Regions from separate parts of the Homo sapiens genome. Here region 1 is linked to region 2. Evidence: promoter capture Hi-C in 16 types of primary human blood cells and fetal thymus (Javierre and others, 2016). All regions are on one chromosome and are shown on one strand. The core of a region is centred on a gene start or on the middle of the fragment in contact, and the rest is flanking DNA. Distances in the headings are between cores, read along the strand shown. Region 1 has its middle 6.8 kb from the start of ZFP41. Region 2 holds the start of LY6H (lymphocyte antigen 6 family member H).

Evidence for each region. Contacts are between HindIII fragments. The CHiCAGO score rates a contact against its expected background, and 5 or more counts as called.
Region 1: a fragment that was not itself captured here is called in contact with the fragment with the promoter of LY6H in region 2 in 6 of 17 cell types (endothelial precursors, naive CD4 T cells, non-activated CD4 T cells and 3 more); the score reaches 9.1 in endothelial precursors.

Annotation. Positions count from the first base shown.
Region 1 is chr8:143,237,456-143,242,872 of GRCh38, reverse strand. No RefSeq gene overlaps it. Among named protein-coding and RNA genes, the nearest start is that of ZFP41, 6.8 kb to the left of the region's middle. The HindIII fragment of the contact is 4,207 bases long and covers 1-4,022 here.
Region 2 is chr8:143,156,914-143,162,083 of GRCh38, reverse strand. LY6H (lymphocyte antigen 6 family member H) reads left to right here and starts at 1,763. Exons shown (of 4, transcript NM_001135655.2): 1 at 1,763-1,886; 2 at 2,375-2,502; 3 at 3,162-3,281; 4 at 3,599-4,168. The coding sequence starts at 1,885. The coding sequence ends at 3,834. It overlaps LOC124902035 (a long non-coding RNA gene), which reads right to left and starts at 2,215. Exons shown (of 2, transcript XR_007061136.1): 1 at 2,098-2,215; 2 at 1-1,287. The HindIII fragment of the contact is 16,430 bases long and covers 1-5,170 here.

The DNA.
Region 1 (5,417 bases), core at 670-3,169, 81 kb before region 2:
CCAGCCCCACAGGGTCGGTGGGTTGGGAATTTTCTTTTTCTTTTTTTTTTTTTTTTTGAGATGGAGTTCCGTTTTTGTTGCCCAGGCTGGAATGCAATGGTGTGATTTTGGCTCACTGCGGCCTCTGCCTCCCGGGTTCAAGTGATTCTCCTGCTTCAGCTTCCCAAGTAGCTGGGATTACAGGCATGTGCCACCACACCCGGCCAATTTTGTATTTTTAGTAGATACAGGGTTTCTCCATGTTGGTCAGGCTGGTCTTGAACTCCTGACCGCAGATGATCCGCCTGTCTCGGCCTCCCAAACTGCTGGGATTACAGGTGTGAGCCACCACACCTGGCATTATTTTGGGAATTTTCATAAGCTAAATCATCTTTTCATTTTCCCCTTTCTTTTTATAGTGGTTTTAAATAGATGAAGTTACCCCTTAGCATGTCTGTGGACAGAAGTTTCAGTTATTTTATGAGATTCTTAGTCCAAGAGGGACCTTTCATGTCAGGGTAACAAGGTATGGTTTCTTTACTTAGTGCCTGTTATTTTATTTATTTCTCTATTATTTATTTATTTTTTGCAGGGGGTGAGGGGAGTCAGTGGAGAAGGGTGCTGTGAGGTTTGATTTTTTTTTTCTTTTTTTTGAGATGGAGTCTTGCTCTGTCGCCCAGTCTGGACTGCAGCAGCGTGATCTCGGCTCACTGTAGTCTCCACCTCCAGGGTTCAAGGAATTCTCCTGCCTCAGCCTCCCAAGTAGCTGGGACTACAGGCGTGCACTACTGTGCCCGGCTAATTTCTGTATTTTTTGTAGAGATGGGGTTTCACCATGTTGGCCAGGATGGTCTTGATCTCCTGACCTCGTGATCTGCCTGCCCCTGCCTCCCAAAGTGCTTGGGTTACAGGTGTGAGCCACTGTGCCTGGTCGATGTTTGACTTTTTAAAAAGGTCTTTTGTCTTTCAGCATCTTAATTTCCCCTTCTTGCTTCTTTTTCTCTTTAGTACCTGACTTTCAAAGGCTGCACCTCCCTAACTTTTTTTTTTTTTGAGACGGAGTTTCACTCTTGTTGCCCAGGCTGGAGTGCAATGGCACAATCTGGGCTCACTGCAACCTCCGCCTCCTGGGTTCAAGTGATTCACCTGCCTCAGCCTGCCGAGTAGCTCGGATTACAGGCACCCACTACCACGCCCAGCTAATTTTTTGTATTTTTAGTAGAGACAGGTTTTCACCATGTTGGCCAGGCTGGTCTTGAACTCGTGACCTCAGGTGATCCACCCACCTTGGCCTTCCAAATTGCTGGGATTACAGGGGTGAGCCACTGCACCCGACTACTCCTCCCTAACTTTTAACCCTCTTCTCTCCTGCGTTACCTTCCCAAGACTATCCTCCTGTGTCCCACAGTCTTTTACTATTTTGGCTACCAAGTCTCACTCTGTTGCCTCAGCTGGTCTAAAACTCCTGGGCTCCAGCAGTCCTCCCACCTCAGCTTCCCAGAGTGTTGGGATTACAGTCGTGAGCCGCTGCACCTGTTCCATAGTCATTTTAAATTTCTTTCCAAAATGTAGACACTTTTCTGTATTTTGGCACTCAGATGGACTTTCTTTTTCTGGAAAATGTTTTGAGAGCAACCTCAGGCCCACAGCCAGTTCCTTTTCTCTCTTCTGTGCAGTTTTCCTGGGTGGCCCTTACTTTGTGAAGGTCTGTGCAGGACACTGGAGAGAGAGCTCACTGGGATTTTGTGTTTTCTTTTCTTTTCTTTTTTTTTTTTTGAGACAGATTTTCGCTCTTGTCCGCCAGGCTGGAGTCCAGTGGTGCAATCTCGGCTCACCGCAACCTCCGCCTCCCGGGTTCAAAAGATTCTCCTGCTTCAGCCTCCCAAGTAGCTGTGATTACGGGCACGCACCACCACATCCAGATAATTTTGTGTTTTTAGTAGAGACGGGGTTTCTCCATGTTGGTCAGGCTGGTCTTGAACTCCCAATCTCAGGTGATCCACCCACCTCGGCCTCCCAAAGTGCTGGGATTACAGGCGTGAGCCACCGCGCCTGGCCTGCGTTTGCTTCTTTTTCCCTTTTTAATGCGGCTACGAGAACCTTAGCAGTGACCCCAGGACTGCTGTGCTGAACTCCTGAACCGCAGTGTTCGCTTCTTTACTGCCCAAGGATAAGAGCGTCAGCTCCACCAGGGTGCTTCACAGACAGCGGGCGCTCAGCTAGTGCCTGTGGACTGATTGACTGGCTGACTGATGAGCCCTGGGGTGCGGGTCCTCCTGGGGCCCAGGACTTGCACTGGAACCCCTGTGGGCATTGAGCCTGGGATACCAGCCTCAGTGGGTGACTGAGCCACTGACACTGCCCCTGGAGAGCCCATCGCCCTGGTGCCCTGTGCCTGTGGCATCCTTCTCCGCAGCGGCTGGCACAGGCAACAGCTGTGGCTGAGATCCTCCCGGCATCCTGGGCACAGGCATCAATCACCTAGTTTCGTGCTTGACTCACTGCTGGTGGTGTCTCCACTTTGCAGATAAAACAATGAAGGCTCAGAGGGTTTAAGAAACTCGACAGTGTCAAAGCACTGGGCCTGGACATCAGCACCACTGCTGGCTGTGTGCCTTGGGATGGTCAGTAGATTTCCTGTCAAATGGGGCAAGATGATAGCACCTGCCCTGTGGGGTCATTGTGAAGGCTACGTGAAAAGTCCTCACAAAGCCCTTAGTGCAGTACCCACTTGCTAAACTTGGCTTGTAATTTATAAGTTATTTTAAAATGGGGGCAATGTGCCCACTGGCTGCACCCATGGCCGTCTCGGGAGCTGCCATTGTCAGTGACTGGTGTGGGGCCAATCAGCACCTCTGCCCTCATTTCACTCTCTCTCCAGCCCAAACGTTCAAGGGGCTTAAAGAATCTTCCCACTGGATGGACTGAGCCATCCTAAAACCATCCTAAAACAGCGCCACACTTTTAGAAGCCAGAATCTAACTTTTAGAAGTTAGAAAGTTTTGATTCCGGTCGGGCGCGGTGGCTCACGCCTGTAATCCCAGCACTTTGGGAGGCCAAGGCAGGTGGATGATGAGGTCAGGAGTTTGAGACCAGCCTGACCAACACGGCGAAACCCCGTCTCTACTAAAAATACAAAAAAAATTAGCCGGACATGGTGGCGGGCACCTCTAATCCCAGCTACTTGGGAGGCTGAGGCAGGAGAATCGCTTGAACCCAGGAGGCCGAGGTTGCAGTGAGCTGAGAATGTGCCACTGTACTCCAGCCTGGGCGATAGAGCAAGACTCTGTCTAAAGAAGAAAAAAAAGTGAGTTTTGATCCCAAGGACATTCCAGTCATACTAATGGATCCGTCAGGGTTGCATCAGAGGAACAGAGCCCACAGAGACAGGTGTGTAGACGCAGGCCTGCGCTTTGCTTTGTTCCAGGGCTTGGACCTCCCAGGACTGTGGGGCCTGCTGAGCGGTGTGCTGGAGCCTGGATCCACAGGCAGGCGCCCAGAGTCTCGGACAGCAGGTGGGATGGAGCCAAGGCAGGCGGGTCTGGGTCTGGATTCCAACCCCTGCACCCCACTGCTGATGTGGGCAAGCTCCTCAACTTCAGATGCCCTCAGCGTTCCCACCCGCACGATGTTCAGATGCCCTCAGTGTTCCCTCCTGCACAATGTTCAGATGCCCTCAGCGTTCCCTCCTGCACAATGTTCAGATGCCCTCAGCGGTCCCTCCTGCATGACGGGGTAGGAACAGGATCTCATGGGATCTTCAATGAAGACCAAATGGTGTGAAGATGGAGGATGCCCAGGATGGTGTGGGGCATGGCAGGGCCTAGGGAGTGCCCAGGTCTTCCCTGCCTGGCGGGACAGCTGCTACCTTGGTTTTCACGCCCTTTATGGCATTGGTTCCTAAACCTGCTCATAATCAGAATCAGTTTGGAATCTTTTTAAGAAAAAAAAAAAAAAAAAAAGGGATTTCCAGACATCATCCAAGAGCTGGTCAAACAGAATGCCATTGGGGTTAAGCCTCATAACCTGTAATTTTAGAAGCTTCCCAGTGACTCTGATGATCAGGCAGGGCCTGAGTGGCAGCAGATGGCACAAGCTCCCTGGTGCAGTGGGGCACAGCTCGGGCTGTTCATTTGAAACTCCTAAGAGCTTGGAGAAATGCTGACCAGTCCCCCACCTCTAAGAGATCCCACTGTAGCTGGGGTAGGGGCAGAGGGGCTGGCATCTAGCATCAGCGTTTTGAAAAATCACCCCCAGATGATTCTTGTGTGTGGCCGGGGTCCAGAATCTCTGTTTTGGAGCACAGGCGAGGAGACCGCGTGAACAAGTGAACCGGTGAGGCTTTTGCATGCAGAGCAAGCAAGAGACACAAAAATGTCAGGCCACTAAGCAGAATCATTCTTCCATGAAACCCCAGCTCCTTACCTGTGAGCACATTCCTTAATTATATGTCACACCAATTTAATTGGAAAAATTAACACCCGCCCCTCGGGCTTATAATCTATGACAAGACATTGGTGGTAAATCCATTTATTCTCCAATTACGTAATCTTTCCCATGTTCACCCACTAACGGACTCACTCAGAGGTAACTTATCCAGGGTGGCACAGGCTGGGCAGTAGAGGAAGCTCCCTTCCAGCATAAACCCACTCTCTGAGCTAATTCTAGAACTTACATGGACATACCAAAAGGCTGCAGTTTGTCCAGCTCTTCCACGCTACATTTAAAAGTCCTTTCTCAGGATCATTGCAAGGTTTCTTTTTTCTTTCTTTTTTTGAGACAGGGTCTCGCTCTGTCACGTAGGGTGGAGTGCAGTGGCTCCATCTCTGCTCACTGCAGCTTCAACCTCCCTGGGTCAAGCGATCCTCCTGCCCCAGCCTCCTGAGTCGCTGGGACCATGGGCGTGCAACGGCATGCCTGGCTAATTTTTTCATTTTTTTTTTTTTTGTAGAGACGAGGCCTTGCTATGTTGCCCAGGCTGATCTCGAAACCCTGGGCTCAAGCCGTCTGCCTGTCTCGGCCTCCCAAAGCATGGGATTACAGGCGTGAGCAGTACACCTGGCCAGGGCTTCTTCCTGTGCAAATTATCTGTGTGGATTCTCTGGTGTTGGTAACAGGTTACCTAGACCTGAACGTTTCTGTGAGTTCATTGCACTCACTGGGTGAATGTTCTCCCCTTGGGATTTCACGGGGTTTCTCTGCAGGATGAATCTCCTTACGTGGACTGGGGTCTGAGCCCCTCCTAGGGCACTGCCCACCCATCACATCAGGGTTCTTTCCAGGATGAAGTTTATGATGTTAAGTAAGGCAGGGCAGGCAAGAGGAGCGGGCCCCAGGTAGGGTATAAGGGCATCTGCCGGCCTCAGGCCAGCCCTGGGAAGCAGGTGCATGGCCTGGCTTGGAGAGTCCCCACTTCTCACTGCCCATTCAGTTGAACT
Region 2 (5,170 bases), core at 514-3,013:
GCTGTGAAATACCTGTTCCCTCATCCCTTGGGTGAGTTCACCTGAGGCTCACAGTTTACACCACTTCCCAGAGTACCTCTCTGGGGTCAGGCTCCATTTCCCCACTGCGGGGGGTTGCTGAGTACCACATGCTTGCCAGCCTCCTTCCCCACCCTGGACCACTTCCCCACTCCCCAGGGCTGCTATCCCCACCTCCAACCAAAGGGCTTGCTCTGGAATCCCTGCCTCAGGCTCTGCTTCCGGGACCTCAGACCCCGTGGGGGTCCAGGTCTGCCCAGGACCACTGTGAGTTTCACATCTGCCTCCTGCTCAGTGGGCAGACTTTGGGAGTCCATTATTCTATTTACTTCTTTCTTTATGGACTCAGATTTCTTTTACTTTCTTGCGAGCTCTGTATGTTTTGAAAAGAATTGTGTTTGAACCTTGATCTAGCTCTTGCCCTCTGCACCTTATGAATCTCAACTCCTCATTCAGTTCTCGGCTAAAGTATCAGGTCCTGGGAGAAGCTCTCCCTGACCCTGAGGCAAAGCACGCTCCTGTGGTGGTCTCTTGTCCATCTCGTCCTTGCCTCCACCCCTCTGGAGCCACAATGGAGCGGAGGTGTGCAGTCCCTGTAGCCCAAGCTGCTTGGGTTCCCACTTCAGCTGGGTCACCTGTCACCTGCGTCACTGTGTGACCCCGAGCAGGGAGCGCCGCCTTTCCGTGTGAGTCTCCTCATCTGTGAGATGGAAATGATACTATCTGCACAGCAGGGCTGTGGTGAGACTATAAGGAGATAATAAATATGAAGTGTCTAGAACAGGTGGAATCCATAGTACATGCTCAATAAATGTTAGCTCTGTCACATCCTGCAAAGATATGCTGCAGTAGGCATCACCATTTGTCCAAGGGGAGAGTCAGGAGGGCAGAAACCAGGTCTCTCTCCTCATGCCCTTTCCCAGGGCTCAGGGCAGGGCTAGGGCAGCAGGGAGCATGCAGTAAACATTTTCAGGTCAAATGAAAGGGAGCAGGACCAAAGGCACGATGGCAGATCGGGGCTTCCCCAGTGCCCCGGGGAGGCGGATTTCAGGCACAGGGACACGTGCAAAGGCACAGCTTTTAGGGAGCTGGAGGGCAGGGCGGGAAGGCCAAGGAAGCCGAGAAACGGGTCCAAGGCTCGGATGCTCTGGCCAGGATTTGTACCTTTACCTCCGAGTGTGGGAGTATTTGGCGACAGAAGCCCCTGGGGCTGCGGCTTCTGGTGGGGGTCTTCATGGATGCTCAGGGGAGGAGAACGGCCTGGAGCCACTGGAAACGGGGAAACGGGGAAACGGGTATGAGGTTGGGGAGGGGCGGGGAGGAGGGGGAGGGCGGGGCCCCAGGGCGGGAGTCTGACCCCAGGGGTCTGCGAACCCGGACCTGCGCGTGGCGCCGCGCCGGGTACCTCCCCCTCTCTGCGTCTTTGTGCATTTTGCTTCCTTTCGCAGTAAACGTTCTTCCGAGAAATTCCAAGGGGATCTCAGCCAAGCAGAGGGGGAAGGGATCCTGCCCACGCCTGGGTAGGGGGCCGCGGAGGCTGGGGAGGAGCAGGGGGCGCCGCGAGGGAGGGAGCGGGAACCCGAGGGAGCGCGCGCGCCAGCAAGGGGGCGCGGAGGGCCCGGGCCAGCTACCTGCGTGGGGGCCGCGAGCCCCGGGCGCCCCCCGCCCCGCGCGTCTCCCAGCCGCCCCCGCCCCCCGCGCGGCCCCCGCCCCGGCTCCGCCCCGCCCCTCGCGCGGGGTCCGCGTCTGCGGCTGCGTTCCCCGAAAGACGAGGCTGCGCCCGGATTCCGGTCCGCAGGGAGACCGAAGGGCACAGCTCCCCGCGCCGCGCACGCCGCCCGAGCCCGGAGTGCGGACACCCCCGGGATGTGAGTGAGCCCCCCGACCCCGAGGCCCGCGCTCCACGCCCCATCCGCGGTGAGCGCCGAGGCGCGCGCGGAAGGCCAAGGGAGGGGACTCGGCCCGGGGTTCCCGGCCCCCCAGCCCAGGGGTGGGGGTGGGGACCTGGCACGCGCCCCTCCCCCCAGTGGCAGGTCCCACCCGCTCCCGCCCCTGCCGCTCATTCCTGTCCGGACGCACCTGCAGCTCCCCGGGGAGAAGAGGACGCCCCCCATCCGCTCCCCCACACAGGTGCCGGCGCGGGGCGGAGGCGTCTCGAGCTGTCACCTCGCCCCAGAGGCCAGACGTCTCCCGGCGGGGATGCTGTGACGGCGGACGCTCTGGAGAAGGGGCTGGGGGTGGGGCTCTGCGAGCTCCGGGCGGACCCCGGCCTTGGATTCCGGGGAGAAGGTTGCATCCTGAGGCTGGGAAAGGAGAGGGTCTTTGGGGTCTCCTGACCGATGCTTCTCCCCTCCAGGCTTGCGCCCCAGAGGACCCGCGCCCCAAGCCCCCGCGCCGCCCCCAGGCCCACCCGGAGCATGCTGCCTGCAGCCATGAAGGGCCTCGGCCTGGCGCTGCTGGCCGTCCTGCTGTGCTCGGCGCCCGGTGAGTAGGGGGCCCGCGGGCTGGGTCAGGTGCCTGGGAGAGCCCGAGGCGCCGCGGGAGAGCCGGGTGTGGGGCTGCCACCCTCTGACGGTTCCCACCGCACTTCGCATAGAGCCCACGCCCCCTCCGGGACCCCTGCGACCCCAGCCCGGCCCTCGGCCCCTCTGCCCCGGCACTGGGCTCTCTCCAGCGCTCTTCCTCCAGGGCCTGGAACTGGTGGGCGGCTGGCCCCGCACGGAAGCCCTTGGTCATCCGTCACCTCTGAGAGCCTCCCGGGCCTCCTTTCAAATCCAGTTTGGTCCTTCACAGCTTGGAACCCACGGACCTCTGGGGGGGATATGTGAGGCGGGGCGGGAGTGTGAGGGGGGCACTGTCGGTGTGGGGTCTGTATAGCCCGTGTGTGTGTTTGTGTGTGTGTGTGCACGCACGTGCATGGGGGCCAGGGAGGGGCCATAGGGGCTCCCCTCAAACTGCCAGGATGGGGCACAGTTGTCCCAGGGCCTCTGCTCCCCCTCCAGGGGTCATGGGGGCCTGCTCCCTCCCGTGGGGTCGGGCTCTCCCAGGAGTGCCTGCAGCAGGGGGATGGGTGGGGGGCGCAGGGGGCTGCCTGGTTTGGACCCCAGTGCCTCTGGTCACCCTCCTCCCCATGCCCTGCCCAGCTCATGGCCTGTGGTGCCAGGACTGCACCCTGACCACCAACTCCAGCCATTGCACCCCAAAGCAGTGCCAGCCGTCCGACACGGTGTGTGCCAGTGTCCGAATCACCGATCCCAGCAGCAGTAAGTTGGGACTTAGGGTGGTGGGGAATGTGCTAAAAGCCAGGCTCTTGAGAGAGGTCAGAGGTGTCCTCGGAGCCCCTCTGGCCTGGGACGAGAGTGAGAGCGTGGGGCGGCAGGCAGGATACTGTCCTGCTGTCCCCCCCTGGCTCCTTGGTGGCCCTTTTCATCTAGTTGAGGCCAGCGTGGGAGGGTGGAGGGACTCGGCCCTGCCTACTGGGGCCCCGAGCTGACCCGGAGGGGCCTGGGCTGGGTCCTCGGGATGAGGCAGAGAGGGCCCAGGAGGAGCCCCCGTCCCAGGCCACGCTTTCTCTTCCCAGGCAGGAAGGATCACTCGGTGAACAAGATGTGTGCCTCCTCCTGTGACTTCGTTAAGCGACACTTTTTCTCAGACTATCTGATGGGGTTTATTAACTCTGGGATCTTAAAGGTCGACGTGGACTGCTGCGAGAAGGATTTGTGCAATGGGGCGGCAGGGGCAGGGCACAGCCCCTGGGCCCTGGCCGGGGGGCTCCTGCTCAGCCTGGGGCCTGCCCTCCTCTGGGCTGGGCCCTGATGTCTCCTCCTTCCCACGGGGCTTCTGAGCTTGCTCCCCTGAGCCTGTGGCTGCCCTCTCCCCAGCCTGGCGTGGCTGGGGCTGGGGGCAGCCTTGGCCCAGCTCCGTGGCTGTGGCCTGTGGCTCTCACTCCTCCCCCGACGTGAAGCCTCCCTGTCTCTCCGCCAGCTCTGAGTCCCAGGCAGCTGGACATCTCCAGGAAACCAGGCCATCTGGGCAGGAGGCCTGGGGATGAGGGTGGGGGGGGACCCCCAGGTCCCGGAGGGGAAGTGAAGCAACAGCCCAGCTGGAAGGGCGTCTTCTGCGGAGAAATAAAGTCACTTTTGAGTCCTGAGACCCGGGTCTGAGCCTGGGTGTCGGGGGCGGGAAAGGGTTCCTGGCAGAGAGCTGGGAATGAGGTGCTGAGGGAGCGGAGGGGCTGGGGGCAGGGCGGGCGCTCAGCCAGGATCTTGGGCTCTTGGGCTCAGGGCACTGGGGTGCTGGGTGGTTGTGCTGGGGCTGCTTGGTCCTGGTGAGGTTTAGGAGCACTTGGGGTGATGGGGTGAGAGCTGAGATGAGCAAGATCACAGGGTGGGCTTGGGGGGAGGTACCGGAATCCTGTGAGCACACCACAGACACCAGACACGCCCACAAACAGTGGTGCCCACGCAGCCAGCATGTGCACACACACTCATGCCCAGACAAGCATACAAACGGTGCCCACGCAGCCAGCATGTGCACACACACCCGTGCCCGCCCTGCTCCTTCACACACACACACCCCAGGTGCCCCGCGCACACGTGCTGGGGCATGCACATAACTGGCACAAACTGGCGTGTCCCAGTGCACGTGCCCACACCCACACGTGCATGCCCATGTCTGTGCACACCCACCCTTGTACACTCAGCGTGCAGTGCACACGGTGCCCTCACAGACTCACAGATGAGACCACGCGTGCTGGCCTCCTCTCGCCCCCACCCCAGCTGTCTCTGCCCCTGGGGGCTGCTTCAGGCCGAGTGGAGTCCTCCTGTTCCCTCACCCTGCCTCTTCACTGGACATCCACTCCGGCCACTCCTGGCCCTGAGTTGGGCTCCTGAGGCCACTCCCTGTGGCCAGGGGTTGAGGAAGCCCACACCTCTCTGTGGGCTGGCCCGGAGGGACTGGGTGCCGTGGGGTGAGGGGGCAGGGAAGACTTGGCCTGGGGAATGTTGGAGTGATGTCTTGATCCTTCCTGCTCCAGTTTCAGCCCTGCACCCCCGCATCCAGCCCAGCCTCCCACACCCACCGGCCACCACGCTAGATGCTCCACCAGCGGCTCGTCTCACGGCCCAGGCTCACCACACCGCTTGGCAGGCAC